2 separate regions of the Homo sapiens genome follow, and region 1 is linked to region 2. Evidence: promoter capture Hi-C in 16 types of primary human blood cells and fetal thymus (Javierre and others, 2016). All regions are on one chromosome and are shown on one strand. Each heading gives the region's core, a stretch centred on a gene start or on the middle of the fragment in contact. The rest is flanking DNA. Distances are from core to core; before and after follow the strand shown.

What was found. Contacts are between HindIII fragments. The CHiCAGO score rates a contact against its expected background, and 5 or more counts as called.
Region 1: a fragment that was not itself captured here is called in contact with the fragment with the promoter of UTY in region 2 in 2 of 17 cell types (monocytes and activated CD4 T cells); the score reaches 5.9 in monocytes.

Annotation. Positions count from the first base shown.
Region 1 is chrY:13,400,272-13,402,971 of GRCh38, reverse strand. The region is part of intron 6 of UTY (ubiquitously transcribed tetratricopeptide repeat containing, Y-linked); the gene reads left to right. Among named protein-coding and RNA genes, the nearest start is that of MIR12120, 78 kb to the left of the region's middle. The HindIII fragment of the contact is 1,430 bases long and covers 624-2,053 here.
Region 2 is chrY:13,478,635-13,481,334 of GRCh38, reverse strand. UTY (ubiquitously transcribed tetratricopeptide repeat containing, Y-linked) reads left to right here and starts at 1,302. Exons shown (of 30, transcript NM_001258249.2): 1 at 1,302-1,821; 2 at 2,018-2,081. The coding sequence starts at 1,670. It overlaps MIR12120 (microRNA 12120), which reads right to left and starts at 2,158; the gene lies at 2,069-2,158. The HindIII fragment of the contact is 7,265 bases long and covers 1-2,700 here.

The DNA.
Region 1 (2,700 bases), core at 89-2,588, 78 kb after region 2:
ATAGGTTACATTCAGCAGATGCATATATGATACATTGCTTTCCTAGAATGTGAAGGAAAAAATGCTGTAATAGTACACATATTTTTATTTGGTTTTAATAGAGAATGGTTATATTAAAATTGATTTTAAAATTAGTATCATATTTTATTGAGTTATTTCTAATATTTCTTTATATCCAGTACAAAAACATTTTGATCAAACTGCTATCGAGGCAACAGAAATTATTGCCTGGGGAAATCCAGAAAAGGCTTCGTAATGCAGGTTTGAATCCTAGCCTGAGATTCTTTTTAGAGGATGAGGTGATGTTTGCTGAGGCAGACAACAAACCAATGAGGGAGTAGAGGAAGTATTACAGGTGGTTTAGATTACCTTGGCTGACAGGGTATGGGACCCTTCCACTTGTAAGAAATGGGAAATATCTTAATTTGACTGGAGTTTGGCTTCATGAGAGCAAAATTTGGATGAGACTTAACTGTGAGCATCTTGGTAGAGATACAGAATTTCTTTTGGGATAATTGCTACAGCTAGAGATACAGAACTATATTTTGCAGCAATAGAGTATTCATGTCTTCACAAACATGGTTTAATTGATAATTTGTTTCTGGAAAGATCATTTTTAAGCTTAGTCATAATTTGAGGATTGGGTGACTCTAGTTTGAGGATTGGATACTGAAAATGAAGACGAGAGGTTATATCATTTTGTCTCATTTCCTTTACTGTCTTAATGTTTACTTTTTTGGTTCGTGGTATTTAATTTAGCTTTCTGTAATGTGAGGTGTTGTGCATAACTTTTATTTTTTATAAATATGTAATCAGTTTTAAAAGTCTTTTCTCATGCATGTTTTGAAATATGTATTTTCAAAATGTTTGCTGTTTAAAAATGTTTGGCATTTTATGCTGTTTGGGGGTGTGGAATAGTAAAGCAGTAATTTTACCGTAGCATCCAAGTTTTTTACTGCTCCTGGCAGATCTTGAATGCTGACAAATTAAATGTAGGCTGAGTAATTTGAATTATATACCTCTCTTTTTTCTTTAGGTTTTACTAAAATAGTACTGAAGTGCTGTAATCTTGCAAGTTATTTTATTTTTCCTTTTTTTTTGAGACGGAGTCTTGGTTTTGTCACCCTGGCTGGAGTGCAGTGGCGTTAGCTCACTGCAACCCTTGCCTCCTGGGTTCAAACAATTCTCTTGTCTCAGCCTCCCGAGTAGCTGGGACTACAGGCGCCTGCCACTATGCCCAGCTAATTTTTGTATTTTTAGTAGAGACGGGGCTTCACCATATTGGTCAGGCTGGTCCTGAACTCCTGACCTCAGGTGATCCACCCACCTTGGCCTCCCAAAGTGCTGGGATTACAGGAGTGAGCCACTGCACCTGGTCAAGTTATTTTCTTTTCAGGCCAGTTTCTATCCTGTAGTGACTTGTTTAGGAAAGGCCTGTGTTCTCATATATTTAATAATATGGTTTCAAGACAGATTTTACTTAAAAATATAGTATAGTCTGAAGTGTGGCTATTATGCTTCCCTTTTTGTGTTGAGGAGAGTAAGTATGCTGTACTTCCAATACTTCATATACTTAAAAAATAGTCTGTATTGTCTTGCTCTGTTAGCATACTCCGGTTTGCAAACCAAATATCTTAGTTCATTTCTGCCCCTGCAATAGAGTACTAGAGACTGGGTAATTTATAAAGAGATTTATTTGACATGAAGTTCTAGAGGCCAGGAAGTCCTAGATCTTGGGACCATGTCTGAAGAGAGCCTTCTTGCTGTGTCAGAACATGGTGGAAGGCGTCACATTACAAGCAAGATAGAAAGATACCAGGTGAAACTCACCCTTTTTCTAAGGAACCCACTCTTCTGATGACAGCATTAATCTGTTCATGAGAGAGAGCCCTTATGATCTAATCACCTCTTAAAGATCTCTACTCTTAATGTCACAGTGCCAATTAAATTTCAACATGAATTTTGAATGGAATATTCAAACTATAGCACTAAGGGAAAATAAAAGCAATGTTCACAGTGTTCAAATGTTGGGTTTTTCCTCAGGAAATAAGCTTTTTATTTCCCAGTTTTCTTTTATTATTTTTTATTTCAAAAGTATGTATGTATCATTATAAAAGGTAATACAAACAAAGATCCTATACCCATCAGTTTTTCTCAAAGGTTAACATCTAGGAAATTGACATTGATACAGTCCAGTTTTTTTTTTTTTAGCTTTTTATTTCCAGTGTCTGCAATTGTTTTGATCTTATATGAAAAGAAAAACTTTAGCCTTCATTTATTTTTAGGTTCGTTAGTTGGGTCCCCGCATATTAGACTGACAGAAAAACTAACAAGAGAAAAATAAACAAATTTATTAATGTGTGCATTACACATTATACACTGGAGAACTTTGCGATGAATGTCAACCTAAGTATTCAAAAAGGTCAGTATAATGTTTAAGAAGAGTTTATTCAACTGCAAAGCTAAGGTCCCTGCAAACACAGATTCCATAGAAAGGAAGTTAGTTTTCCAAAGTGTAGAAGTTTGGAGTCACTTATACAGACAAAGCTTTCTATATAAGGCTTATTGCAGAGTTAACAAAAATCTGATTTGTTGAGGTAGTCTTTTTGTTTCAGGAAAGGTATACTCAACATTTCACACTAAAGATGTAACTGTCATGGGGTCTTCGGCACCATCCAGTCTGAATTAGGCCAATAAAAG
Region 2 (2,700 bases), core at 53-2,552:
GCAACCTCCGCCTCTTGGGTTCAAGCGATTCGCCTGCCTCAGTCTTCAGAGTAGCTGAGATTACAGGCATGCGCCACCATGCTCTGTTAATTTTGTATTTTTAGTAGAGACGGGGTTTTTCCATGTTGGTGACGCTGGTCTGAAACTCCCAACGTTAGGTCATCTGCCCGCCTCGGCCTCCCAAAGTGCTGGGATTACTGGCGTAAACCACAGCGCCCGACCTGTCTCTTATCTATTTCTAACATGGAAGCCCCCGCTTCGAGCTGTCCCTCTTACCTGACCGAACCAATCATGTTTCCCTAAAACGTACAAAAGCAAGCTGTGCCCTGACCACCTTGGGCAAATGTATCATGGGTAAGTCTTGCAAAATAAACTTTTTAAATTGACTAAGACCTCTCTCAGATATTTGGGGTTCAGAAATAAATTCTTTTACCTATTATTTATAATTTTGGTTACAATTGAGAAAGTAAGAAAAAAGTGGTGTTTTTTTCTTTTCTAAGGGTTACTGCATCTTGAAAGTGTGATGAAGGTCTTAATTATTGTTCTTATAATTCCTGTCCACAGAAGCTCCTACTCTTACTGAGACCTCACGGAATTATCATTATCACAATAGAAATAAACATTTTGGGTTTGTGGAGTAACTTTTTTTTTTTTTTTTTTTTTTGCTCATCGTTTGTTGTTTAGATAATATCATGAACTGATAAATGCAGTTGCCACGTTGATTCCCTAGGGCCTGGCTTACCGACTGAGGTCATAAGATATTATGCCTTCTCTTTAGACTTGGTCAGTGGAGAGGAAATGGGCAAAGAACCAGCCTATGGAGGTGACAAGGCCTTAGGGCCAAAAGTCTTGAGGGTGAAGGTTTAGGGCCTGCGCAGCTTCCCTGCCATGCCCCGCAAGGTCTCGCATTCGCAAGGCTTGTGACAGTGGGAGCCTCATTACGGACTCTCCTAAAGTCCATGGTGTCCTCTTTTCGCATTTGCGCCCCGTGGGTGATGCCCGATGCCGCCCTTCCCATCGCTCTCTTCCCCTTCAAGCGTATCGCAACTGCAAAAACACCCAGCACAGACACTCCATTTTCTATCTTAATGCATTTAACTAGCACAACCTACAGGTTGTTCCATCCCAGAGACTACCCTTTTCTCCATAGACGTGACCATCAACCAACCAGCGGTCAGAATCAGTCAGCCTCTGTCATGTTCCTAGGTCCTTGGCGAACTGGCTGGGCGGGGTCCCAGCAGCCTAGGAGTACAGTGGAGCAATGCCTGACGTAAGTCAACAAAGATCACGTGAGACGAATCAGTCGCCTAGATTGGCTACAACTAAGTGGTTGGGAGCGGGGAGGTCGCGGCGGCTGCGTGGGGTTCGCCCGTGACACAATTACAACTTTGTGCTGGTGCTGGCAAAGTTTGTGATTTTAAGAAATTCTGCTGTGCTCTCCAGCACTGCGAGCTTCTGCCTTCCCTGTAGTTTCCCAGATGTGATCCAGGTAGCCGAGTTCCGCTGCCCGTGCTTCGGTAGCTTAAGTCTTTGCCTCAGCTTTTTTCCTTGCAGCCGCTGAGGAGGCGATAAAATTGGCGTCACAGTCTCAAGCAGCGATTGAAGGCGTCTTTTCAACTACTCGATTAAGGTTGGGTATCGTCGTGGGACTTGGAAATTTGTTGTTTCCATGAAATCCTGCGCAGTGTCGCTCACTACCGCCGCTGTTGCCTTCGGTGATGAGGCAAAGAAAATGGCGGAAGGAAAAGCGAGCCGCGAGAGTGAAGAGGAGTCTGTTAGCCTGACAGTCGAGGAAAGGGAGGCGCTTGGTGGCATGGACAGGTACGCACCTCCATCACCCGCCTGGTTGGCTGGCGATACTCTCCGGGAAGGCCTGGACGCAGCTTGCCCACGTTGATGACGGGGTCATCCTCAGCTTGGCACTCACCAATCTGTCGCTGTCGCTCTTGGACTCGGGAAGGAGCAAGTCACTGGCTTTCTCAGACCATTAACAAGCTCTGTGTCTCTCTCTCTACAGCCGTCTCTTCGGGTTCGTGAGGCTTCATGAAGATGGCGCCAGAACGAAGACCCTACTAGGCAAGGTAAAAGCAACCAGACGCAAAGTCTTTGGTCCGCACTTTGCTCTACCAAGGCCCCGCGTTCCTTACCGCCCAGCCAGTATTTATTTTGGCTCTGCTCCATGGCCAAGGGGTCGGAAAAGTGTTTCTTGCCTTTGCTGTCCCCGTACTCTGGAATACTTCGCCCCTTGCTCCAGACTCCCTTCTACTCTGAGGAAAAAAAAAATCGGACGCTTTGGGACCGGGCTAAACCGGGTCTACACCACATGCCTGTTACTTTAGGGCCTTTTGTTCCTGAATTTTAGCGTCACAAATAGTGAATGTGTACAGTTTTCAAAATTCATAACTTCCTGCTTCTTCCCCTCGCCTTTTGGTATTTGGCTCTTGGTGTCTAATTTTAAACATTTTTTTGCCTTTTTAAAAAAAATATCCCTGGTGTCCTAAGTGTAAGTAGCAAGTAAGTTACAGCGGTGAAGAGTTTGCAGTAGATATTTGACCTATAAACTGATGCGTGTATGTTTAGCCTGAAGTTTAGTGATTTGTTGACTTTTTTAGGATGCACAGTGCTGCAAATGTGATTTCATGAATGTGTGTGCTTTTTCCATTCAGGAACCTTGTTTCTTAGGTGTCATGCTCACAGTGG